7 separate regions of the Homo sapiens genome follow, and all the other regions are linked to region 4. Evidence: promoter capture Hi-C in 16 types of primary human blood cells and fetal thymus (Javierre and others, 2016). All regions are on one chromosome and are shown on one strand. The core of a region is centred on a gene start or on the middle of the fragment in contact, and the rest is flanking DNA. Distances in the headings are between cores, read along the strand shown. Region 1 holds the start of ZNF836 (zinc finger protein 836). Region 2 holds the start of ZNF616 (zinc finger protein 616). Region 3 has its middle 2.2 kb from the start of ZNF432. Region 4 holds the start of ZNF227 (zinc finger protein 227). Region 5 holds the start of SCGB2B2 (secretoglobin family 2B member 2). Region 6 holds the start of ZNF614 (zinc finger protein 614). Region 7 has its middle 17 kb from the start of ZNF331.

Region 1 (3,719 bases), core at 1,152-3,651, 8.0 Mb after region 4:
GTGTGTCCCTCTCTCATTCTGCACCTTTCCTCCCCTTTTCTGTTTTTCTCCTCTTTATGTCTGTTCTGCCCGATGCTCTGCAACTTACTTCACCTCTCGTAGCTCTTTCTCCCCAATCTTTCTGATTGTCCCCAATCTCCACGTATTTCCGCCTCTTTTTCCCCATCTGAGCTCCCTCTCTGCTCTCCTTGTTAAAATTCCCTCTTACCTGTTACACCTCCTTTGTTCCCACTCTCTAGCACCCCCAACTCCCTAGGCTTCCTCCCTGCTGTGGTTCTCCCTCTACTCTGCTTGTCACCCACTGCCCTCTCTCCCTCTCTTTCAGTCCCAGCACCACGTAGCTCTGTCGGCTGCGGCTCCAACTCTTTCACCTTCTCCCCACTGTCTGTCTGCAGTGCCTCCTCCTTTGCCGCCCCACTCTATTTTGCTGCCTTTCATCTCTCTGAAGGTCCCCCTTTTTTTCTAAATTTCTCTGTGTGCTTTCCTCCCCCTGCTTCTTTCTCCATTCGTTCTCTTTCACTCTTGCTGTCTCTTTGCAAATCCCTAAATTATCATCCATTTTGCCGTGTATTTATGGGTCTCCCTCATTCTCTTCTATTCGGTCTTTCCTTTTGCTCCGTCGCTCCCCTTCTTTTCCTCTCCTGATCCCTCTCACCCACACATTCAGTAAGAAAGGGGAGGAATAGGATGCCCACCTCCCGGAAAAGCATATTTTCCAGTGGAGTAAAATTTGGGAAGGAAGAACACTGGGTGTCACAAGACTCAGGTGACCTCCCCCAAGGGGGGGATCGAGAAAAGCAGTGGCTGTGAAGGGGAAGCCTGGGGAGCGAAAGGACCCGGCGTGAGGAGGACACAAGGTGGCAGGGGGTACGGTGTCTCAGGACAGGGAGGGTCTGCAGAATCCCAGGACCTGGGAGGAGAAGCGACTCCTTCAGGAGCCGGACGGCGGGCGCTCCCCTCCAGGGGCTGACGACGGAGAAGCTCCGGGGTCGCAACGGGCGGGAATCCACCTCCCGAGTGAGGACTCGACTTGGCGCAGGGCCGAAGCAGAGGTCAGTAAGGGTTTTAAGCAGGAACACGACCTGAGTGGGGTTGTCTACATGGTCCTAAGGCAGAAAGGCAGGGAGCAAGGAACAGCCTCAGAGAGATTTTTAAACCGAAAGGGAAGCAATTATCAGACTTACTTGGGGCGAAGGGGCTGTTGCTGGTATTTTAAGGTCCGTAGCGATCCCCAGGAAACGGGTATGGACAAGGGAAGACTGCCAAGTGCACGTTCGATTCAGGCAGACGGGGCGAAGCAAATGTTTAGTCCAGGTAGACGGAAACTGACGCGCAGCGCTGTGATCTTTTCCCCGCGCGATCTGCTTCCGGGTGTGCAGGAAGCTACACGCCCTGAGAAAAAAGACTGAGAGACCTGGGGCGGGAGAGGGGCCTGGGCGGGGTGCGACCCGCAAGGGAAAGGGCAGAAAGACTGGCCAGATTTGGGAACCCTGAAAGGGTGGGGCAAGGCTGATGCGGTAGTGGGCGGGGCCAGGTGGGCTAAGCGGGACGGGCGGTGTGGGCGGGACCTGTTTGGTGGGCGGGGCCTGTTATTCGCTCTGCCTTCCACCCAGCAAGTCTTTGTTCTCCCGATTTAGGAGTATTTGTGACTATTTCTTGTCCTGTGAAGCAGCGTTGCTTCCTGCCTATTTTAAGTTAATGTTTTAGACTTTAAGGTCAAAGCTTAAAGTTGTGGTCCACTTCTGTTGGAAACTAAGATGTTTTCTTCTTGTCAAGTTGAACTGATTTAAGTCAAAATCGATTTTTGCGAGCCTGGTGGACTCCATCGGGTCTTGCCAGTGAGGCTGAAGCCAGTTAAGGCTGAAGTTACTCAGTAGTCAGGGAACTAGGATCTCCGTGAAGATCTGATGTGCAGCCGTGGCTGGATCCAGGAACCCTGAAGACATTATGCTAAGCGAAATGTGCTAGACACAGAAAGACAAATCCTGCATGTGCTTACTTACATGTGCAATCTACAAACATCAAAATTACAGTAACAGAGTAGAAGGGTGGTTTCCAGGGCTGACGGTCTATCCTGTGCCTGTCCCACCATTGTATTTTGGAAGCAAATAGCTTCTTTGGCTTCACAGTTTCACAGCTGGACAGAAATTTTGCCTCAGGATGAACCACACTTTGAGTCTCACCCATATGTGATTCAGATAATATTTGGGTAATATTTGGGCCTTAGAGTTTGATACTGAAATGGATTAAGACTTTTGAAATGGGCCAGGAGCAGTGGCTCTGGCCTGTAATCCCAGCTCTTTGGGAGGCCAAGGTGGAAGGATTGCTTGAGCTCAAGAATTCAAGACCAACCTGGGGCAACATAGTAAGACCCTTGTCTCTACAAAAAATACAAAAATTAGCCAGGCATGGTGGCTCACGCCTATAGTCACAGCTATTTGGGAGGCTGAGGTGGGAGGATCTCTTGAGCCCAGGGGATCAAGGCTGCAATGAGTTGTCTTTGCACCACTGAACTGCTGCCAGGGCAACAGAGTGAGACTCTGTCTCAAAAAATAATAATAATAAGACTTTTGAGATGTTAGGATGGGGGTGAAGGGATCTTGCATGTGAGAAGGACATGAATTTTGGGAGTCCAGAGTACAGAATGTTATGAGCTGAATCACGTCCCTAAAAAATCATTGTTGGCCAAGCGCGGTGGCTCATGCCTATAATCCCAGCACTTTGGGAGGCCGCGGCGGGCGGATCACAAGGTCATGAGATCGAGACCATCCTGGTTAACACGGTGAAACCCTGTCTCTACTAAAAATGCAAAAAATTAGCCGGGCGTGGTGGCGGGTGCGTGTGGTCCCAGCTGCTCCGGAGGCAGAGGCAGGAGAATGGCGTGAACCCAGGAGGCGGAGCTTGCAGTGAGCCGAGATCCAGCCACTGCACTCCAGCCTGGGCGGCAAAGCGAGACTCTGTCTCAAAAAATAAATAAATAAATAAAATAAAATAAATCATTGTCTTTAAGTTCTAACACCCAGTACCTCAGAATATGACTGTATTTTGAAATAGGGCATTTAGAGGCTATTAAGTTAAACTAAGCTTGTTAGAATGGGCTCTGATGCAATCTGACTGATGTTTTGATAAGAGGAAATTTGGCTGGAAGCAGTGCTTCATGCCTGTAATCCCAGCACTTTGGGAGGTCAAGGTGGATGGATCACTTGAGCTCAGAAGTTTGAGACCAGCCTGGCCAACATGGTGAAACCCCATCTCTACTGAAAATACAAAAATTAGCCAGGTGTGGTGGCGCATGCCTTTAGTGCCAGCTACTCGGGAGGCTGAGGCAGGAGAATTGCTTGAATCTGGGAGGCAGAGCTTGCAGTGAGCCGAGATCGCGCCACTGCACTCCAGCCTGGGTGACAGGGTGAGACTCTGTCTCTTAAAAAAAAAAAAAGAAAAATTAGCCGGGTGTGGTGTCACGCACCTGTAATCTCAGCTACTTGGGAGGCTGAGGCAGGAGAATCGCTTGAACCCGGGAGGCGGAGGTTGCAGTGAGCCAAGATCGTGCCACTGCCCTCCAACCTAGGCTCAAAAAAAACAGTGTGTGGCACCTCCCCATTCTCTGTCTTCCTCCTGTCTGGGCATGTGAAGTACTTGCCTCCCCTTCACCTTCTGCCATAATTGTAAGTTTTCTGAGGCCTCTCCAGAAGCCAAGCAGATGCCAGCATCATGCTTCC
Region 2 (3,460 bases), core at 170-2,669, 7.9 Mb after region 4:
CTCATTCTGCACGTCTTTTTTCCCTTTGCTGTTTTTCTCCCCTTTCTTTATTCCCTCTTTTATGTCTATTCTGCCCAATGCTTCGAAATTTATTTCACCTCTTGTTGCTCTTTCTCCCCAAACTTTCCCATTGTCCCCAGCCGCCACGTATTCCTGCCTCTTTTCCCCCATCTGAGCTCCCTGTCTGCTCTCCCTGTTAAAATCCCTCTTCCCTGTTAAATTCCCTTTTCCCTGTTACATCTCCTTTGTTCCCACTCTCTAGCACCCCCAACTTCCTAGGCTTCCTCCTTGCTGTGGTTCTCCCTCTACTCTCCTTTGTTACCCACTCCCCTCTCCTTCAGTCCCAGCACCACGTGGCTCTGTCAGCCGCGGCTCCGACTCTTACCTTTTCCGCCCCCCGCGTCTGACTGCAGTGCCTCCTCCTTTGCCGCCCCTCTCTATTTTGCTGCCCTTCAGCTCCCTGAAGCTCTCCCTTTTCCCTAATTTCTTTATGTGCTTTTCTCCCCGTGCTACTTTCTCCATGCGTCCTCTTGCACTCTTGCTCTCTTTGCCAGTACCTAAATTATCATCCATTTTGCCGTGTACTCATTCTTTTCTCCCCAGTTTTTCTTTCTGTCCCGTCGCTCCCCCTCTTTTCCTCTCCTGATCCCTCTCACCCACACATTCAGGAGGAAAGGGGAGGAATACGATGCCCACCTCCCGGAAGAGCACATTTTCCAGTGGAGTAAAAATTTGGGAAGGAACGACAGTGGGTGTCACAAGACAGACTCGGGTGACCTCCTGCAACGCGGAGTCAGGAAAAGCAGTGGCTGTGAAGGGGCAGCCTGGGGAGGGGAAGGACCCGGCGTGAGGAGGACACTAGGTGGCGCGCGGAGGACACTAGGTGGCGCGGGGGACGGTGTCTCAGGACAGGGAGGGTCTGCAGAATCCCAGGACCTGGGAGAAGAAGCGGCTCCTTCAGGAGCTGGGCAGCGGGCGCTCCCCTCCAGGCGTCGACAAGGGCGAAGCTCGGGGGTCTCGACTGGTGGGAATCCACCTCGCGAGGGAGGACTTGACTTCGCCCGGGGCCGAAGCAGGGGTCAATGAGAGTTTTAAGCAGGAACACGACCTGAATGGGGTTATCGACATGGTTATCTACATGGCAGAAAGGCAGGGGGCAAGGAACAGCCTGAGAGAGATTTTAAACCGACAGGGAAGCAATTCTCGGACTTACGTGGGGAGAAGTGCCTGTTGCAGGGGCGAAGGGGCTATGGGTATTTTAAGGTCCGTAGCGATCCCCAGATCACTGGTACGGAGAAGTGAGGACTGCAAAGTGCACGTTTAATCCAGGCAGACGGAGCGAAGTAATGTTTAATCCACGTAGACTGAAACACACACACAGCGATAAGGCCTTTCCCTGGCGCAATCTGCTTCCGGGAGTGACGGAAACTGCTAGCGGAGAGAAAAAACTGGGAGGCCAGGGGGCGGGGCCTGGGCGAGCCGCGACCAGCAAGGGGCGGGTCGGAAAGAGGGGCCTGACTCGGGGAGGGACCCTGAGAGGGTGGAGCCGGGCCGGAGCGGCAGTGGGCGTGGCTAGGTGGGGCGGGACGGAGCCGCGGCGGAGGATGGGGCGGGGTTTCATGGGGTAAGCGGGGCCGAAATAGAGCCTGTTATTTACTCTGGTTCACAGGCAGCATGTCTTTGGTTTTCTGACTACTTCTTGTCCTGTGAAGCAGCGTTGCTGCCTGCCTATTTTAAGTTAATGTTTCAAAATTTAAGGTTAAAGCTTAAAGTTGTGGTCCACTTATATTAGAAACTAAGATGATTTCTTAACAAGTTGAACTAAGTCAAAACCGATTTTTACAAGCTTGGTGGACTCCATCCACTCTTGCCGATGATGCTGAAGCTACTCAATAGTCAGGGAACTAGGATCTCGCTGGGGATTTGATGTGGAGCCGTGGCTGGATCCAGGAACCCGGAAGACATTATGCCAAGCGAAATATGCTAGACACAGAAAGACAAATACTGCCTGTGCTTTTACACGTGCAAAGTACAAACGTCAAATTTACAGTAACAGATTAGAAGGGTGGTTACCAGGGCTGGGGGATGTATCCTATGCCTTTATCACCATTATATTTTGGAAGCAGATAACTTCTCTGGCCTCACAGATTCACAGCTGGGCAGAAATTTTGCCTCAGGATGAATCACACCTTGATTCTCACCCATGTGTGGTTCAGATAATATTTAGGGGGTATTCTGCCCTAAGAGCTGATACAGGAATGGATTAAGACTTTTGAGAGTTGATACTGAAATGGATTAAGTCTTTTGAGATGGGCCAGCAGTTTTGGAGGCCCAGGTGGGCAGGTCACTTGAGCTCAAGAGTTCAAAACCAGCCTGGACAGCATCGTGAGACCCCCATCTCTACAAGAAATACAAAAAGTAGCCAGGCTTGGTAATGCACTCTTGTAGTCCCAGCTACTTGGGAAGCTGAGGTGTCAGAATTGCTTGAGGCCAGGGATTTGAGATCATCCTGGGCAACATAGCCAGACCTCTCTACAAAAAATTAAATTATCTGGACATGGTGGCCTGCACGTGTGGGCCCAGCAACTCGGAAGGGTAAGGAAGGAGGATCATTTGAGCCCAGGAGGTGAAGGCTGCAGTGAGCCATGAGAAGAGGAGATTTGGTTGGGTGCAGTGGCTAACGCCTATAATCCCCACACTTTGGGAGGCCAAGGTAGCAGGGAGCTAACTTGCATTCTTCTGTTAGCTGAGGCGTTTGATGATAAATGAAAGCAGAAAGTTTGTGACTTATTTACGTTCTTTCCACAGAAAGGCCATATGTCCTTGGCCATAAAGAAAAAGAGACCTACAGCTTATCTGCTTCCTCTATTTTTTTTTATATGTTCTGGACCATGAAGAAAGATTTATAGCTTATTTGCTTTATCTCTTTGCTTTCTCCTGGTCCTTTCAGGCTGACTCCTTTTCCCCAATTAGGGCTCCACAGACTCTACCCTCAAAGGGCATTTTTTTCTCACCCTCCTATAAAATCCCTCCCACAAATAAACCAGGATCCTATTTCCCAGCATGAAAAGTTTGTTGGAAAAAAAACTGAGGCTGCATGGGACCTTCTTTCTCTTCTTCAAAACTACTTCACCTCTTCTCTCTTTTGTCTCTCTCTTCCTAACTGCCCTGCACAATTCTAGGTCCCCAGTGAATCCTTGGGTTGACATGCAAGGGAAGAACCCATAGGGAAAGGAAATCTCTGGCTTTCAGAGATAACTTTTTGGATATCTGGATGCATTCATAACCATCCTTGTGTTACCAGAAAGGGGTCCTGATCCAGAACCTGAAACTTCCATTGCACAATTATAACTGAGAAAATTATTACAGTGAAAGAGATCTGACCTAATCAACTCCATCTTGCTTTTAACCTCCAAGCTGCTCTTGTTCATTCCTGGGCATAGGCTGAACTAACTTTGGA
Region 3 (3,889 bases), core at 792-3,291, 7.8 Mb after region 4:
CTCCTCGCAGGGGACAGTGAACGGCGCAAACTTCTCAAAGGCCAGAACCCATTATTACCACAAAGGCGCGGCATCCCTTCTTAGCGGTTATGATGGCTGTGACGTCTCAGCTCAATGGAAAATTAAAGTCACCTCTGGGCACCTCAGTCACTATTGTAAATGCGAAGCGTTTTAGAAGCCGTATAAAAACTGAAGCAAGAGAGACTAGAACAAAAAATAAGCGAGCGGTGCGTTGCAGGTAACGGAGCCAGAGCCCTTAGGGGAGAGCATCATGGGGGCGGCCATCTTAGGGGACGTTCGGTGTCCGTACGGCAGAACATATTCTCTCTGAGAAGCTTGCGGTGGAACTGGCCCATGGAAATGTCTTTAGAAGAGAAGAACCACCTGGCTCTGTTCTTGACTCTGGAAAAGAATCCTTTTCTAGAATTATTTAGGTTGTTGCCAGATTAATTTCCTTTAGAGAGTTTCCTTGCCCCCACGACTTCCTATCTTTAAAGCCAACAATAGTATGTGAAATCCCTTTCATATTTGAAACCACTGACTATTGCTGCTGCATCTCTCCGGTTTCTCCTATTCTTAAGTGCTTGGGCAATCCAGAATAATCTCCCAATGCTAAAGTCAGCTGATTAATAAACTTAATTACAATGCAGAGTCCTTTTTGCCATGTAACATAACCATGGGAATTACTCTGGGGTTGTAGATCTGGCTATGATATGATGACACTAATGAATATTTTGCAATAAAAACATACTATTTTAAAATATATATATACATATATCTTTATATATGTATATTTCTACAGAATTATTACAAGTTATGTCTTATGATGGTTTCTTATAAGAAGCAAGGAGGAAAAGGTCCTTAACATTTTCAATTGTGTTTTTTTTAATAATAAAGCATGCATTCTAATTTACAAAAACCACAATAAAGGTACTTTCATCATGTCAGTCTTGAGGCTGAACAACACTTAACATTCTTTTTCCTTTTACCTGTCTGCCTTCTCCCTTCCCCTACACTCTCTATACCCCACCCTCCAGGCTCTCTGTTCCATCATCTTATGCGTATGGCCCCTTTCCCCTGTGCCCTCTTATTACTTCCATCTATCACGCAGACACACACTGTCACTCCCCTAAACACTCTAGTGTTAAACAATTGCTGCTGATTGTTTTTTGACAAGTGCCCTATGGGTAGGAGTGTTCACATAAATAAAGTCAAGCCAAATAGAGAAATACTATGAGAATAGACCTATTCAGCAGGCTGCAAAGCAGGCTTAGTAGTGAACATTCTGTGGGGATGGAGGCTTTTGGGTGTTTCAGAGCCATTTCTGCCATTTTCAGAGCCATTTCTACCTCCTCAAGTGCAGATATTCTGCTAGGGTGCAGATATTCACTGTTACTGTTGTTAAAAGGTGGTTGCTTTTCAAGGCTACCTTGAAGCTGAGGATATGGGGATAGGATTAGGGCAAGCTAAATACCACAAGCTCACTGTGGCCGGCATTGTAGACTTAATTGGCCATTCTAGAAGAGGAACTAACTGGCTTCTAGCCAGGGCCTAAAAACTAGATCTAGATAGCCAAAAAGATTACATTAAACTTCCTCTAGTGTCCCATCTATCAGATTCCAATCCTGAAGGACCAAGTCAATCTCTCTTCTATTTCATCTCCTTTCTCCCATCTTATAAAAGATCTTTGGAAAACTCTGTTTATTTCATATATAACAGAGCTGATATTTGTATGTTTTGTGGAGATGATGTTTCATCATGTTGCCCAGGCTGGTCTTGAACTTTTGGGCTCAAGCAATCCTCCCACCTCGACCTTCCAAAGTGCCAGGATTACAGGCATAAGCCACCATGCCTGTCTTAACATTTAATCTTTTCAAATTACTTCACTATGTATTCTTTTTTGTTGTTGTTCTTTTTTTCTGTTTACTTCACTGTGTATTCTAAGCACAAATAAGAAATTCTTATTTCCTAATTATTGTTTATTTCCATATATATAATATATTTTTTTAATAAGTTTTTTTTTAGACTGCATCTCACTCTGTCACCCAGGTTGGTGCGCAGTGGTGCAATCTCAGCTCACTGCAAACTCTGTCTCCCGGGTTCAAGCAATTCTTCTGCCTCAGCCTCCCAAATAGCTGGGATTACAGGTGTACCACCACACCCAGCTAATTTTTGTATTTTTAGTACAGACATGGTTTCACCATGTTGTTCATGCTGGTCTCAAACTTCTGAACTCATGTGATCCACCTGCCTTGGCCTCCGAAAGTGCTGGGATTACAGGAATGAGCTCCAACACCTGGCCCATTTCCTAATATTTGTATACACTTGCTATATTTTTATTTTTACCACACATAAAAATCAAGGCAAATGCAAGCCATGGATCTTATACATACAAAGGCATGTAGAACTATAATCATATAGTGAATATTCATGCATACTGAGGCAGGTTTTTAGATGCTCAGAGTCTGAAATTGCACTGCATGGTATTTCCATAAAATGTCCTGGGGCATACTCGGACAGAATAGCTCAAGTGCAAATTATAAGCATATATTCCCCAAATTGTATCCTGTTTGAATTCATCAAAGTTGAAATGAAGGAAAAAATAATAAGGGCAGCTGTGGGGAAAAGAAAGAGAGATCAGACTGTTAACTTGTCTATGTAGAAAGAAGTAGACAAAAGAGACTCCATTTTGTTCTATACTAAGAGAAATTCTTCTGCCTTGAGATGCTGTTAATCTGTAACCCTAGCTCCAACCCAGTGCTTGCAGAGACATGTGTTGTGTTGACAGAAGGTTTAATGGTTTTAGGGCTGCGCAGGATGTGCTTTGTTTAAAAAGTGCTTGAAGGCAGTATGCTTGGTAAAAGTCATCACCATTCTCCAATCTCAAGTACCCAGAGACACAATACACTGCACAAGCCCACAGGGACCTCTGCCTAGGAAAGCCAGGTATTGCCCCAGGTTTCTCCCCATGTGATAGCCTGAGATATGGCCTCATGGGAAGGGAAAGACCTGACTGTCCCCCAGCCCAACACCCATAAAGGGTCTGTGCTGAGGAGGATCAGTAAAAGAGGAAAGCCTCTTTGCAGTTGAGATAAGAGGAAGGCATCTGTCTCCTGCTCATCCCTGGGAATAGAATGTCTCGGTGTAAAACCTGACTGTATGTTCTGTTTACTGAGATAGGAGAAAACCACCTTAGGGCTGCAGGTGAGACATGCTGGCAGCAATACTGCTCTTTATTGCACCGAAATGTTTGTGCTCGTGCACATCAAGGCACAGCAGCTTTCCTTAAACTTATTTATGACACAGAGACCTTTGTTCACATGTTCTCCTGCTGACCCTCTCCCCACTATTACCCTATTGTCCTGCCACATCCCCCTCTCCGAGATGGTAGAGATAATGATCAATAAATACTGAGGGAACTCAGAGACCAGGGCCAGCTGCGCAGGTCCTCCATATGCAGAGCGCCAGTCCCTGGGGCCCCCTTTTCTTTCTCTATACTTTGTCTCTGTCTCTTATTTCTTTTCCTGGTCTCTCGTCCCACCTGACGAGAAACACCCACAGGCTGTGGAGGGGGTGGCCCCCTTCAGGCAGCCAGAGAGAAAGGTCGGCTTACCCACAAAGGGAAGCCCATGTGACTAACAGCAGATCTCTCAGCAGAAACCCTACAAGCCAGAAGAGAGTGGGGGCCAATATTCAACATTCTTAAAGAAAAGAACTTTCATCCTAGAATTTCATATCCAGCCAAACTAAGCTTCCTATATGAAGGAAAAATAAAATTCTTTACAGACAAGCAAATGCTGAGAGATTTTGTCACCACCAGGCCTGCCTTACAAGAGCTCCTGAAGGAAGCACTAAACATGGAAAGGAACGACCGGTACCAGCCACCACA
Region 4 (3,706 bases), core at 490-2,989:
ACATGCAGGTGAAAATAATCAAATTTCCATCTTAGGAGATATACTTAACCTCTCTCTGCCTCTGGATCCCAAAGAGTAAACTAGAGGACATTATTTGTTTTAAAAAAGTTGTGAAAATGGGCTAAGTGTGGTGGCTCATGCCTGTAATCCTAGCACTTTGGGAGGCCGGGGCGGGTGGATCACCTGAGGTCAGGAATTCAAGACTAGCCTGGCCAAGATGGCAAAACCCCGTCTCTACTAAAAATACAAAAATTAGCTGGGCGTGGTGGGGAGGGGGGTGCCTATAACCCCAGCGACTTGGGAGGCTGAGGCAGGAGACTTGCTTGAACCTTGTGTGAGGGCGGAGGTTGCAATGAGCCGAGGTCATGCCACTTCACTCCAGCCTGGGCAAAAGAGCCAAACTCTGTCTAACAACAACAACAACAACAACAACAACAAAACAGAACAAAAAAAAAAAGAAAAAAGTTGTGAAAATGTAGTGAGGGTCCCATAGTCTGAATAGTTTGAACTAGTTCCTGGCACATACTTGGTTCTTTATAAGAGATAGTTGTATATAACAGAATAAAGAATATATATTTAGTAAATGAGAACTGCAAACATGTACTGTAGTAGATATGTGGATATTTTTAGGTATTGCTCTCTTCTTTCAACCCTCAATTCTTGGAAACATCAATTCCATTATACATTTAAGCAAATAAAGATCAAGGTTTAAACACTGAAGTAATAAATTTGTTCATCTTTCAAATTCAGAAACTCCTTGAGGAATGATTACAGAGGCCCTAGTTGCTTTGTGGAGTTGATCTACCATATGCCAAAGCTTGTGTTTTCTATGTCTAGCTATCCTCAGTAAGCAAGTTGTTCTGAATTATATGACTGTGCTATTAAGAAAAGTGGAAATCCATAATATATTCTGCCTTCGTTGCATTTTTTGATTGCTCTTTCATTCTTTTAGTATCTAAAGAGTAGTTTTTCTATTAGTCGATCCTGTTAAATGTAAAAACTTAAAGGGTTTCCTCTGCCCTTTTTTTTTTTTTTTTTGGAAGTGGTGGGTATAATTCTATTAGTACAGGATCACGTGATCTGTTTCTTATAATAGTTTTTTTTTTCTTTTTTTTTTTTTTGAGACAGAGTCTCACTCTGTCGCCCAGGCTGGAGTGCAGTGGCACGATCTTGGCTCACTGCACCCTCCAGGGTTCAAGCGATTCTTATGCCTCAGCCTCCCAAGTAGCTGGGACTACAGGCGCGCGCCACCACGCCCGGCTAATTTTTATATTTTTAGTAGAGACGGGGCTTCATCATATTGGCCAAGCTGGTCTGGAACTCCTGACCTCGTGATCCGCCCGCCTCGGCCTCCCAAAGTGCTGGGAGTCTTTTTTTATTTTAGGGCTCCAATTCTTCACATATTTGCTGTTACTTTTTGTTAATAAGAAAAACCTAAATTCCACTGACATCAGAGAACTGCTTCAGCCTGGCTAAACAGCAATAAGCCGTGAAGAGGATTCTGGATGTTGTAGTCCGGGAGCTCCGAGAATTTTGTCACACTCTCCGTAACCCTCTCTCACTCGCTCGCTCCGTTTTTTTTTTTGTTTTTTTTTTTTTCAAGCGCGAAGAGGGCGGCACCTGGATGGTTTTTCCTTCTGGAAGTTCTGGGAAACGTATTCCAGAACTCTGTCCGGAAACAATTGGGCCGCAGGAGCGCGGGCCTTCTGGGAAGGGTAGTTCAGGAGCTCTGGGCAGGCAGAGCCACTTCCGCCCCGGAAAGCGAGGCCGCCACCATCTTTTGGGTCCGGGAGGTGAGTCAGCCCTGCACCCCCACGACCCCTCTTGAACCTTTTCAGCCTGTGCTTGGGAATAGGCGCTCCCCAGCCATCAGTCTTGGGATGGAGAGGTCGCGGCCGCGGCGGAGGCCGAGAGGCCGAGGGCGGGAAGTTTGCTCTCCTCCCGCACTTGGCAAGCAGCGCCGCTAGTTCTGTGGGTATAATAAACAGCGAGTTACCTATGATCCGCGCTCCTGTTTCCTCATCTTTAAAATAGCAATAAAGATAGTCGTTACTGTGTAGGGTTGTAATTAGAATTAAACAAGATAATACGGGTCAAACCTTAGAACAGTGGTGGCACCTGATACTGGGTTGGCTCCTGCTATTGATACAGTGATTCCCTCACAAGCGCCCTTTTTACTGGAAGCTCCAGTGAAGAGAGAAGAAAAGTCAGGGCTTTATGCCATGGCCTTTCTGTCGTATCCTTCAGGAGACCGAGCTCTTCCCGAACTTTTACAGATCTTTTTTTTTTTTAAGAAGGATTGAGTCATCGGGCTCCAATGCGTGGGGATGTTTACCGCCGTTTATCCGGGATAGAGACTCCATCGTGCTGACAGCATCCTTTTATTCACCGCCTCCGAATTTGCAAAGAGGAGGAAGGAGGGACTTCTTGGCTTCTCCCAGCATAGCCCCAGGTACCTGCTCTTGAACGCACTTTGTTGTTCCATTTTCTGTCCTTTCAGTTAATCAAGTTTCCGTCACTCAGTAAGTTACTACTGAAAAATGATGAAATATTTGTTGAATAAATGTGAGAGTGGGTAGGAAAACTACTTGGAAATGAGTATTACCAATAACATCTTACCACTTTGATTTTAAGGCATTCGTCTGTGGACCATAGCTATTGATGAAGTAGGTCTTGTTATTTTGTTATGAGGAAATTAGGCAGAGTTTATGTTATTAAATACTTTCCCGAAGTTATTCAACTGATAGTAAGAGGTGGATTTGGGATTGAACCCAAGCATTCCTTTTCAGACTGTGTGATCTTTTTTGTTTGTTTTTGTTTCTTTGGTTTTTGTTGTTGTTTATTTTCTATTCCTTTTTCTGAGTCTGTGGTCTTAATCTCAATGATACAGTCGTCTTCAGTTATCTTAAATAGTAATCCATATGGCTACCGGTGAGTCGTTGGAAATCAGCCTTGGGAATGTAGGTATGGATTTTACTGTGGAAGACCTCAAAAACTGCACTGATGAATTTTGAATTTTTTAGAAAAATCCTGCAACATCTCACTTACTTAATTTCATTCCATGTCAAAATATGTCATATTCTAGTTATAGAAGTAATGAATGCTCATTATAGAGATGCACTATCCAATCCAGTAGCTATAAGCCATGTGTGCCCTAGGAGCACTTGAAATGTGTCTAGTCCAAATTGAGATGTGCTGTAAGTGTTAAATACACACTGGATTTCAAAAACTTTGTACAAAAAATGTAAGATGGCTCATTGATAATTTTTTGTATTATATGTCAAAATGGTAATATTTTGGATACATTGGCTTAAATTATGTTGTTGAAATTAACTTCACCTATTTTTGTTTTTGTTTTTTTGCCTTTTTTATATGTTACTGCTAGAAAATTTAAAATTATTTATGTGTCTCAGTATATTTCTATTGGACAGTGATGTTATATTCAGAAAACTTAAATTACTTATAATAAAACTGCTAACACTTTAATGTGTTTCCCTTTAGTATATGCTATGGATGTTTCTCAAAATAGGTTTGGTATTCTGTGTAGTAGTTTTTTTCTTATTATGAAAATTTTCTTTTTTCTTTTTTTTTCTTTTTTTTTGTGAGATGGAGATTCACTCTTGTTGCCCAGGCTGGAGTGCAGTGGCGTGATCTCAGCTCACTGCAACCTCCACCTCCCAGGTTCAAGTGATTCTCCTGCATCAAG
Region 5 (3,342 bases), core at 1-2,500, 9.5 Mb before region 4:
GTCTCGCTGGCTTCAAGAGTGAAGCTGCAGACCTTCAGGGTGAGTGTTGCAGCTCATAAAGGTAGTGCAGACCCAAAGAGCAAAAGAACAAACATCCCACACCTGGGAAGTAGACCCCAGCGCGGTTGCCGCTGGTTGTTCGGGTGGCCCGTTTTTATTCCCTTATTTGGCCCCGCCCACATCCTGCTGATTTGTCCATTTTACAGAGCGCTGATTGGTCTATTTTACAGAGTGCTGTTTGGTCCGTTTTTACAGAGTGCTGACTGGTGCATTTACAAACCTTTAGCTAGACACAGAGCACTGATTGGTGTATTTACAATCCTTCAGCTATACAGAAAAGTTCTCCAAGGCCCCACCTGATCCAGAAGCCCAGCTGGCTTCACCTCTCGGTTATATGCTAATTATATGCATTAGCACGCTAAGAGAAACGCTCATCAGTGCCATGGCAATTTACAAATGCCATGGTAAGGTTCAGAAGTTACCCTGTATGGTTCAAAAAGCTGGGAAGCCCTCAGCTCCGAGAAATTGAAATTGCCCACCTCTTTCCTGGAAAACTCATGAATAATCCACCCTTGTTTAGCACATCATCAAGCAATAAATACAAGTATCCCTAGTCCAGCAGCCCAAGCTGCTGCTCTAACAATGGAGTACCCATTGTTTCTTTACTTTCTTAATACACTTGCTTTGGCTTTGCACTGTGCTCTCCCATGGATTTTTTCTTGCGTGAGCTCTAAGAACTCTCTCTTGGGGTCGGATCCGGACCCCTTTCTGGTAACAGAAGCACTGCTTCACGAAGATCATGCAGGTCAGTACTTAATAAGTACAAAAAAGTCTATAGCGACACTATTTATAATTTTAAAAATGATTGAAGTCAATTAACATTTAAGTGTTAAAAAGAAAGTAAACAACCCAAATATACACAAACAGTAGACTGCTCTGGCTTGCATACAGAGAGGTCCATTGCCCTTTTGGGTGGGCCTAAGAAGCACTTCTGGGGAGAGGGGGCGTCAGGCTGTGATGGCTGCGGGAGGAGTGACTCCTCCCAGGATGAGGGTCTCCATCCTCCCAGTGCTCACTCAAGTTCAGTATTTCCAAGTCCTTCCAGGGGCGTAACGCACGTCAGAACGGCCATTAGTGTCACAGATACGTGTCCCCTTGCATTTCCAGGAAATGCCCTTGGTTGGCGAACTACAGTCGTGACAGTCGGGCCACAGGGCGTTTTGTGAGTTATCGTCTTGGGCAAATGAGTGCCAAAAAAAAAAAAAAAAAAAGACCTGAAGGTGAACAGCATAGCGGCAGGGTTTGGGATGAGAGGAGCCCCTTTGCTAGCAACGGCGAGCACTTGCGCGGTACCAGCAAGGGCTGCCCATGTCTCGGAGGGAAACGTTTGTGTGAGCGCAGGAATGACCCGGAAGACCTTGGCACGGCTGCAGTTTTCTGGGAAATGTAATTTCTTGGTCCGGGCGCCATGGCCCTTATAAGTAGAGGGTGTCCCTTGGTTTCGAGTTGTATCGTTCACCAGAGGACGACTGTGTGCCCCAGGACAATTTGCGCATGGTCCTAGCTGGCCGGCTCTAGGTCGACGGCCCCAGGCGGTTAAGCTACTTACAAAGCCGTGACCGGTTTGCCCGCGGCGCACCAGGTCCGCGCAGCCGCAGAGACCCTTGGGAAGTGTGGTCTTCGGGTGCCGGCGGTTCGCGGCTTCCGGGACATTTGTACCGCAGGGGGAGGATTCTGGGAAATGTGGTTCGCCGTGGGCGGTGCACTGGGTCAGTCCCGCGATAGCTTCAGGCCTGGCGGCGGCTTCCAAGCTAAGGAACGGTTTGGGGCAGTGTCGTTCCCGGAGGTCGGCCGCCGTTACCCGCTCACCAGCTACGCGGCGCGTCAGGTCCGCGGAGGCGCGGGCTCGGGGCGCCTGCGGGACGGTGAGGCCCTGCTGAGGACTCCGGCAAGTGTGGGTCGCGGCGACGGCGGGGCTAAGGCCCTGGGTCCGCGCGCGGTTTGACCACGGCCGGGGCCTTGGGCATTTCCTGGCCTTCCTGTTGAGCCGTGTAAACGCGGGGTGATGACGGCGCCGACCTCTTGGCACTGTTGTGAGAGCGAAGTGGGCGCGAGAGCAGACGCCAGCTACAGTTTTTTTTGGGTTATGTCGTCATGAAGCCGGCGCTTTCAGTTGTGCAACCTTGAACAAATGGGTTCAGTATCTCGGAATTTCAGTTTTGTCTTCATTTTAAAAAATAAATCTGGTTTAGAACTCGACCTCAAGCGATCCGCCCGCCTCCGCCTTCCGAAGTGCTGGGATTAAAGGCGTAAGCCACCGCACCAGCCTAACGAACATGGCGAAACGCCGTCTCTACTAAAAATACAAAAAAAAATTAGCTGGGCGTGGTGGCACGTGTCTATAATCCCAGCTATTCGAGAGGTTGAGGTAGGAGAATCGCTTCAACCCGGGAGGCAGAGGTTGCAGTGAGTCGAGGTCGCTCCATTGCACTCCAGCCTGGAGACAGAACGAGACTCCGTCTCAAAAAAAAAAAAAAAAAAATCTGGAATAATATGAATGCACACCTTGCAAAGTGGTGAAGACTGAACGAGCTGATAAAGTTGTTACCGTTGTTTTATGAGTCTTTTGTATACAGAATAATTGATTTTCCCCGCAGGTGGCACCTGGTAAATAGCCCTTGCGGAGAAACACCCTGTTCCTTCCCAGGGAGAGATTGACGCTCCGGCGAGTGATTACCAGTGTGCTTTTCCATTAAGGTGTGTGACAGGTGCCGCAAGATAAGCCCGATTTTTCATGACTGCTTTTTCCTGCCTTTCTGTGCCCTCAGGACACTGCCCATCTCTAAGATAAGAACCTGGAAAGGGGACTCTGTTGGCCATTGGAAATTGCAGAATAATGTCTCAGGTAAGTCGGTGTGTCCCCAAATCTTCCTGAAACACTTTATTAGGCCTCTGTGTGTTTGCTTTGCTTCTCCTGCCTGTTCCCACCTAATCAAGTCCATTTAAGGGACTAGATCTATGGTTCCTTTCACTATAGGAAGAATGGAGCCCACAGGAGAGCTCCAAGGTATTGTCCTCATCACCCAGTGTTCCTCTTTTCTACAGTTTTCTGCTAGAAGACTTTCTAGATTGCCAACATTTTAAAACTGTAATTCACAATGCAACTTTGGAATGTAAGGTTATTCGGTTTATGGTTGTCAAAACTGTACCATGTGGTCTCAAGTGAAGAGATGTTTGGAGTCATCCTTGATTCTTCCTTTTGACTTATAACTCATATTCAGGTCCTCTAGTTTGGATCTAAACGATACACCGTATACAGCATCTGACCATTAGTTAGCCCAT
Region 6 (3,892 bases), core at 204-2,703, 7.8 Mb after region 4:
GACCCTCTCCCCACTATTACCTTATTGTCCTGCCACATCCCCCTCTCCGAGGTGGTAGAGATAGTGATCAATAAATACTGAGGGAACTCAGAGACCAGTGCCAGCGTGGGTCCTCCGTATGCTGAGTGCTGGTCTCCTGGGCCCACTTTTCTTTCTCTATACTTTGTCTCTTATTTCTTTTCTCAGTCTCTCATCCCACCTGACAAGAAACACCCACAGGTTGTGGAGGGGTGGCCCCCTTCAAGGTGAATTCTCAGACAGATCAATTTTAGGAAAGAGAACACATGGAAGGCTCCAAGAATGTCTTTAAAAACCACGTGTGCCCATGTACTGGTTCGAAAGTCTCTGTAAGCTCTTTGGGTATACATACCTCGTGTCAAGACCAATGTACTAAGCAAATCACAAGAACTGTCTCATTTCACATTATGCGCTAAAGGAGTAACTTTACCCAAGAGAGCTTTGTCCTTTGCCCACAGTTCCTATGAGGCAAACTCTAAGCCTTTGGAATACGCTGCTTGATAAAACTGTCTTTGGTTATCAGGGCAATTTAAGCCATGCCAAATTGTCTATCCTAATAATGTGATTTACTGTGGGAGACCTTGGACCACGTGGTATTAGTTTGATATCTGGAGGAGCTGGAGATTGAAGTCAGCCTCATAGGCAGTCAATTGTGTGTGTGTGTGTTAACTGATATCCAATAAAACTCTGGACACCAAGGCCTAGGTGAGTGGCAACAATGGTTACAATGGCTGGCAATAATAATATAAGGGTGTATATATAAGAATATGATAATTTAAAAACGTATGAAGCAAAACAGAATGAGAGAGGATTAGACAATTCAACAATAATAATTGAAGACTACATTACCCTACTTGCAATAATAAAGAAAACAAATAGAAACTCAGCAAGGATACCGAAAACTTGAACAACATTATCAACCAACTAGACTTAACGAACATTTAACACTGCACTCAACAGCAGTAAAATAAACATTTTTTTCAAGAGCACATGTTATATTCTTCAGGAAAGATAATATCCCATGTGATAGCCTGAGATAGGGCCTCATGGGAAGGGAAAGACCTGACCGTCCCCCAGCCCAACACCCGTAAAGGGTGACTCACAAGGGCCCCAGACCCAGACAGAGTCGGACTCGTCGCTGATTTCCTCAGACTCTTCATCCCTACAGCCAAAGGACCCGTCATTAACGCCCCGCTTCCTCAGCGACTGCGTTCAAATACAGCCCCAATCAGGACGCTCCACGCACCATCGGTACACAGACCCACAGGCCGCGAGTCCATGCCCAGAACTCGACTCACCCGAGCCCGAACCTCTCCAGACACCACTGGCAGCGACAAAACGCCGCATCCACGTCCGAAAACGCTTCCTATTCAGACGCGCTCCTGCGCGGACTCCGGGAAGCTGAGCGGTAAAGACCGTGAAGCGAGGCGAGGACCACGGAGCCTGCCCGGGATCGCGAGTTCAGACTGCGGGCGCCGCTCTATGAGGTCACAGGGCTGCGCCCATCGCAGCGTTTCTGACAGGAGCGGCCATAATGGCTGTGGGAATCACTCTTAGTCACCTCAGTGCCTTTCTCTCTTCGTTGCAAGGGACACTCAAGAGTCGGGTGCCCAGCCAAGGCCAACACGGCGCAGTGGCATTCTATTCAGCCTGCTGTGGAAAAAAGATGGCGGCGCCCTTTGTGCCCATTATAGCTGAGAGTGGAGCCTTAGCTGGAGCACCATGGGCACGGCCATCTTAGAGGAAGGCAGCAGCCGTACGGCAGAGAAGATGCTCATATCCAGGACAATTTGGAAAAATAAACAAGGTTTGAAGAAGTCACGGTGCTGGCCAGGAAGCGGTCACAGAGTTGCCAAAACCAGTGGTCACTGAAAGTGTTAGATTTGGGGATAGGGCGGGGGTTCTGGGCTGGGTAAGGCTTTTGTGGGTTAGATTAGACTCTGACTGAATGGACGAAGCCGAGAACAGGAGTGATGCTCCATTAAATGCTAATACCCACATGGGGCTTGCTATTAAAACCACTGCCAGTGGGGAAGGGGATGAGGAGGTGAAGGTGCAACTGTGTTAATATCTACATGTTTCCTTCCAGAAGTAAAGGAAGATGACAGTGGGGCACTTAAGAATATGAAATTATTAGAATGCGATCATCCTACTTTGCAATGTTTCCAGATTTTTTAAAAAGTCACACTTAAAAAATATTAGTTCTATTTTTGCAGATGTTGGCGTTGTAACTGTAGAAGATTTAAGTAAATATTGTATTTTTGGAAGGCAACCTAGAGCCAATTTAATTTTTTCGTTTTCTTTGACACAGCAATTCTAAAAGCTATCTAGGCAAATCTGTCTTAATATTAACCACAACTTTTGTAATTTACAAAAAAAGGGAATTACAATGAGAGATGAATACTTTGGTAAATTATGGAACATCTGCTGAACTGTAAGAGTATATATCAATTTAAAAGAATATGCTACAATTGTTTTATAAAAAAGAAAACTTTGTCAGAGGACAAAAAAATGATCTGCAGGATAGTATATATTTTATGGTCTTGTTATTGGAAGAAATCATAAACATCTTTTGGAAAATTGTGATTGGTTAAACAAGACATTTAGTTTGAATTAATATTGTTTGTGTTCATAGGTAGAGAATGCCATGTTTTTACTTGAAAAATATTCCCAATTTATACTTAATTTTACTATCTTTGTACCATAATCATGAATATATTATAAAACATGTTGATCTTAGAAAATAGGTATGATGATGTATAATAAGTTCATGGCATGATAAATGCAAAATAGGCTGTTTTCTTTCAGAAAATAAATATGCTCATGCATTTGAAAAATTCTGGAGAATATACTAACAATATTTGACTGTTCCGTACAATTATGGTGACTTAAAATTTCTTCATTTTACTTACGTTTTGTAATTTCTAGAGAATAAGAATTTCATGTTCGTATTTCTTGAGTGTTATAACATATTCCATCCAGGATTAAATTTCAGCCCCGTTCATCTGGAATGTTAATCTCTGGTAGGTAAGTTTAGCACCTGGTCCACAGGACTATGAGCAGCCCATGATGGGACCTTCACTGATCATTTCCAGGAGTGGGCTGATAAAACTTTGCCGTGGCAGGCTGTGCTGATTCACGGGACAAGGAAGGTGATTCAAGGGCCTGGTTGGTGGAGCACTTTTGTCTGATTCATTGCTGGAGACAATCTGCCCTGAATCCATCCTGTTACAGTGTGGGAATGGTGATGGGAGCACCAATCCACAATTTAGGGCAGAGATGTTCAAATTTAAGAAGGCTCTTTTTATAAATGCAGAGTCCGAACCCCATCCCCAGAAATTCTAGCTTGGAATGTCTGGGGAGTGACTCAAGAATTTGCCTTCTTTTACAAGCTTCTCAGAGAATGCTGAGGCAGGAACCCCAAAGAAAACACTTAGAAAGTTCTATAGTGTTCTGGACTTAAAAATATGATGGCTGTGTCCCCACAGTATATTTAGGCTTTGGTTCAAATTATATCTGCACAGAAAAGCCTATCCTGAAAACTCTTCCTAAAATAACTCAGGTTACAATCTATGAACTTACCAGGCTTTATATTTCTTCCTAGCACTTAACTGAATTCGATTTTGTATTTATCTTACTCAGTCTCCTTCACCAGACTGTATGTCATATCAAAGCCAGCACTTTGCCTGTTTTGTTCATTGATGTGTCTCCATTGCCTACAACATGCCTGCCATGGTGTAGAAGCTCAAAAAATATTTTCAAAGAAGTAAATTACTCAATATGGAGTCAGGGATTGAATTCTGCCACAATACTATATGGCAAATGTCTATTACTTTTATAAAGAGAACTCACCATTTATAAACTGGATTAAATC
Region 7 (3,322 bases), core at 796-3,295, 9.3 Mb after region 4:
CAAGGGTACTCTATACAGTAGTCTTACCCACACGTTCATAGAAACATACAATCTCATCCATGTCATAATGAAGGCCAAAAACCTCACAGGCGCCCTCCCTTACCTGAGCTCCAGGAGGCTCCCTGATGAGTCCACACAATCACAAATCCAGTCACACCCACCAATGATTCTCTCCCAACAACAGCATATATTTTTTAGGGCAAAGCATCTCACACCCCAGTGTTTGTCTAAATTGCACCATTTCGGAAGCCCCCTGCTCTTTTGCAGACCTTGGTCAAAGTGAAACATTTCACAGGGGTTCAGGCAGTGAGAAATATCCTGCCTAACCACCTGACCACAAGGCGAACAAAGACCCAATTAAAGAAACATTCTCATCATGTCCTACTGGGCAAAGGCCCAACTACAAAAACCATCCCTATCATATCTTTCTTGGCAAAGGTCCAAGGAACATCCTGATGAGATCCCACCGGAAAAAGGGCCAAACCGCCTGATCATAAGAACATCTTGTCAATATCCTGCCGGGCAGCAAGCCATACAGCCCAGGCCTCTCCCGCCCATACCAAGGTAACACTCACAGAGACATCTGAAGAGCCAGGCAGTGCTCCCAAGTCTGGGACAGCATCAGAGAACGAAACGCAAAGTCCTGCCCTTACAGAGAGAGCCTTGGCACAGACCCAGTCAGGACCAGGTCACTCCCGTGGAACCTACTCAAGGTCCCTACACACATGCCTGGAGCTCCCCAATCTACTGGGGGGTGGGGGAAAGGGCAGTGCTGAAACGTCCCCAAAATCTCACATGTAAACACCCTACCTAACACTTTCTAGAGGCATTTCCAGCTCGGGGCTGTATTTCCAAGAACGCTCTGGAGGCACAGCTCTTTTCTAAGGAGGGCCATGTTGCATGCTGGGAAATTTTTGAACTTTTCCCAAATCACAGCTTTTAAGCTTTCCGGGCTTATTATTATTATTATTATTATTTTGAGACATTGTTTCACTCTTATCGCCCAGGCTGGAGTGCAGTGGTGTGATCTCGGCTCACTGCAACCTCTGCCTCCTGGGTTCAAGCGATTCTCTTCCCTCAGCCTCCCAAGTAGCTGGGATTACAGGCACACACCACCACGCCTGGCTAATTTTTGCATTTTTAGAGCGATGGGGTTTCACCATGTTGGGCAGGAGGGTCTCGAACTCCTGATCTCAGGTGATATACCCGCCTCGGCCTCCCAAAGTGCTGAGATTACAGGCGTGATTTCTGGTCGTTTCAGACTACATTTCCTTCCCAGAAGGACGCGGGGACACGCCTTCCCTATGGACGGATCCCAAATGCAAGTTGTAAGCAATTATAACTGTAGGCCCCTAGAGCCTGAACCACTTTTCCCAGGAATTTTTTGTGGTGCGCCTTAGGAGCAAGCAAAGTTTCAGGGCAGGAGAAGGCCGACAGGGCTTCCAGCATTTGAAGATTCTGCCAGTCTGAAATACGCTTTCCCAGAAGTCTATGGGGGGTGCAGCTGCTCTAACAGTGGGAGGAGACACCGACGAAAAGCATTCTGACGGCCGCGCTTCCAGCGCTAAGGATTCCCGCGTAGTGAGCATTTCCCAGAGGTCTCTGGGGCATGGCTCCATTAGGGCCGTGTGCAGTTGCCTGCAGGGAAACACTGATGGGCGCCCTTCCAGATACGTCGATTCCCGGGTTATGAGCTACATTTCCCAGAAGCCCTCAAGGCAGGACGCCCTTAGGGTCGCGTAGAGTTGCATGCTGGGAAATCCTGACAGCCGCTTCCAACTCTGTGGATTTCCGGGTTATGGACTACATTTCCCAGAGGCCTCTGGGTCACGGCTCCATTTGCGCCGTGTAGAGTTGCATGCTGGGAAACACTGACGGGCGCCCTTCCAGCTGCGTCGAAGCTTCTCTGGTTTCGCATTACATTTCCCAGAGGGCCTTGGGGCACAGTCCAATGAGGAGCGAGCCGGGTGGCCGGCTGAGGGGCGTGCTTCATGCTCGCGGGATTTTTAAAAATGGTTTCTCCTGGATCTTATCCCAACTGCGCCTGAGACCTTGTTTCACCTCCTGATGTGCTGGGTGTGGTTAGGCCTCGAGCCGGGAGCTATTTGCCTCCCAGGAGGAAGCCAGGGCAGGGTTCCGCGGGGAATGGCGGTGAGGGAGCCACTCGGGACGCGGAGGCCCTAAAATGAAGAAGCTTCGGCCTGAGGCTTCGGGAGCGGCGAGCAGGGAAGTGGGAGTGTGTGTGAGTGTGTGTGTGTGTGTGTGTGTGTGTGTGTGAATAAGCCAGAGGCTGCCTGGTGGGGCCCCGCCGTGGCCCAGTGACTGAGATAATTGTCTTCGTCTGTGGGGTAATGCGAACAAGCCCCGTTCCCCTAAGCCGTGATGCATGCGGGGTTGACGCGGCCGGGCTCTGTCCCCATAAACTGTGACACAGGTGTGTGTAGACGTCTATGAGGGCCATAGCGCCGGGCTGTAAGGGCATCTGTAGGGGTGACGCAGCCGGGCTGTGTCTCTGCACCTCCGTTCTGTGCGAGGTCAATGCTGGTGGGGTCTGCAGAGGTGGCACGGCCAGGACGGGTCTCCGTGTCTCTGAAATGTGCCTTTGCACTTCTGTCAGGTTGACAGGGACAGGCAGTGTCCCTCTGGTGTGAGCGTCTGTGGGTGTGAAAGGGCCAGCGAGTGTGCGGCTGTGACTGGTCGGGATCGGGCCTGGGTGCATGGCCTTTTGAGTGAGCACAGGTGTGTGCGACCATGTCACCTGTCTTTCTAGTGTCTCCGTTGCTTCCTGTGCCTTGGCCTTCCAGCCATGTGGTACCTGCTAGGGAGCAGTGGTCCCAAAGTGACGTGAGAGGCTCTACGCTATTGTGAAAATGACCAAGAAGAAGGCTTCACAAGTCACGAGATGGCAGTTTTGGAGCCAGAAGTGCTCTCCGTGCACACTACCTGGACGACAAGAGGAAGTAACCTCAAGAATAGAATTCCTTTTGGGGAAGAAAGAGGTACCTGACATGGGAGGCGGGGAGGTGGTGAGAGGGGCAGCTCCATGTTTCAGAACCCCAGTTCCTAGAGTTTTCCAGCATTTCTCTGAAAAACTCACATGCCTGTGCCCTCTTATTTCTGATTGATTTTAACTGTGGTCTGGGGACAAGTGTGCCCTATTTTCTTTCTTTGTTTTTTTTTTTTTTGAGACAGAGTCTTGCTCTGTCGCCCAGGGCTGGAGTGCAGTGGTGCGATCTCGGTTCCCAGGTTCAAGCGATTCTCCTGCCTCAGCCTCCCAAGTAGCTGGGACCACAGGCGCACGCCACCATGCCCAGCTAATTTT

The links. The method cuts DNA at HindIII sites, captures the fragments that hold promoters and counts their contacts. A CHiCAGO score of 5 or more calls a contact.
Region 1: a fragment that was not itself captured here is called in contact with the fragment with the promoter of ZNF227 in region 4 in 4 of 17 cell types (total CD4 T cells, naive CD4 T cells, non-activated CD4 T cells and 1 more); the score reaches 8.7 in total CD4 T cells.
Region 2: a contact is called between the fragment with the promoter of ZNF616 here and the fragment with the promoter of ZNF227 in region 4, in 1 of 17 cell types (total B cells). The highest score is 6.8, in total B cells.
Region 3: a contact is called between a fragment that was not itself captured here and the fragment with the promoter of ZNF227 in region 4, in 1 of 17 cell types (total CD4 T cells). The highest score is 9.4, in total CD4 T cells.
Region 5: the fragment with the promoter of SCGB2B2 here is called in contact with the fragment with the promoter of ZNF227 in region 4 in 1 of 17 cell types (total CD4 T cells); the score reaches 7.4 in total CD4 T cells.
Region 6: the fragment with the promoter of ZNF614 here is called in contact with the fragment with the promoter of ZNF227 in region 4 in 1 of 17 cell types (naive CD8 T cells); the score reaches 5.1 in naive CD8 T cells.
Region 7: a fragment that was not itself captured here is called in contact with the fragment with the promoter of ZNF227 in region 4 in 9 of 17 cell types (non-activated CD4 T cells, total B cells, activated CD4 T cells and 6 more); the score reaches 28.7 in non-activated CD4 T cells.

Annotation. Positions count from the first base shown.
Region 1 is chr19:52,170,152-52,173,870 of GRCh38, forward strand. ZNF836 (zinc finger protein 836) reads right to left here and starts at 1,470. Exons shown (of 5, transcript NM_001102657.3): 1 at 1,185-1,470. RefSeq lists an enhancer at 869-1,008 and a silencer at 1,589-1,638. The HindIII fragment of the contact is 1,362 bases long and covers 1,721-3,082 here.
Region 2 is chr19:52,138,519-52,141,978 of GRCh38, forward strand. It overlaps ZNF616 (zinc finger protein 616), which reads right to left and starts at 1,420. Exons shown (of 4, transcript NM_178523.5): 1 at 1,214-1,420. RefSeq lists an enhancer at 1,016-1,255 and silencers at 1,376-1,655, 1,666-1,715. The HindIII fragment of the contact is 2,387 bases long and covers 1-1,763 here.
Region 3 is chr19:52,049,106-52,052,994 of GRCh38, forward strand. No RefSeq gene overlaps it. Among named protein-coding and RNA genes, the nearest start is that of ZNF432, 2.2 kb to the left of the region's middle. RefSeq lists an enhancer at 1-105. The HindIII fragment of the contact is 3,416 bases long and covers 334-3,749 here.
Region 4 is chr19:44,210,793-44,214,498 of GRCh38, forward strand. ZNF227 (zinc finger protein 227) reads left to right here and starts at 1,740. Exons shown (of 6, transcript NM_182490.3): 1 at 1,740-1,793; 2 at 2,298-2,452. The HindIII fragment of the contact is 5,683 bases long and covers 816-3,706 here.
Region 5 is chr19:34,675,909-34,679,250 of GRCh38, forward strand. SCGB2B2 (secretoglobin family 2B member 2) reads right to left here and starts at 1,251. Exons shown (of 4, transcript NM_001025591.4): 1 at 1-1,251. It overlaps ZNF302 (zinc finger protein 302), which reads left to right and starts at 1,770. Exons shown (of 5, transcript NM_001289187.2): 1 at 1,770-2,195; 2 at 2,829-2,905. The coding sequence starts at 2,897. It also overlaps the pseudogene ZNF807P and the pseudogene SCGB1B2P. RefSeq lists enhancers at 742-1,639, 1,299-1,398, 1,449-1,508, 1,640-2,536 and a silencer at 1,959-2,018. The HindIII fragment of the contact is 5,389 bases long and covers 1-3,342 here.
Region 6 is chr19:52,026,926-52,030,817 of GRCh38, forward strand. ZNF614 (zinc finger protein 614) reads right to left here and starts at 1,454. Exons shown (of 5, transcript NM_025040.4): 1 at 1,317-1,454. LOC112268244 (a long non-coding RNA gene) reads left to right here. Exons shown (of 2, transcript XR_002958414.2): 2 at 187-2,855. RefSeq lists enhancers at 1-711, 1,182-1,941. The HindIII fragment of the contact is 7,426 bases long and covers 1-3,408 here.
Region 7 is chr19:53,519,086-53,522,407 of GRCh38, forward strand. It overlaps a transcript of ZNF331 not described here. Among named protein-coding and RNA genes, the nearest start is that of ZNF331, 17 kb to the right of the region's middle. RefSeq lists enhancers at 639-1,413, 1,414-2,187, 1,678-1,877, 2,188-2,961. The HindIII fragment of the contact is 293 bases long and covers 1,900-2,192 here.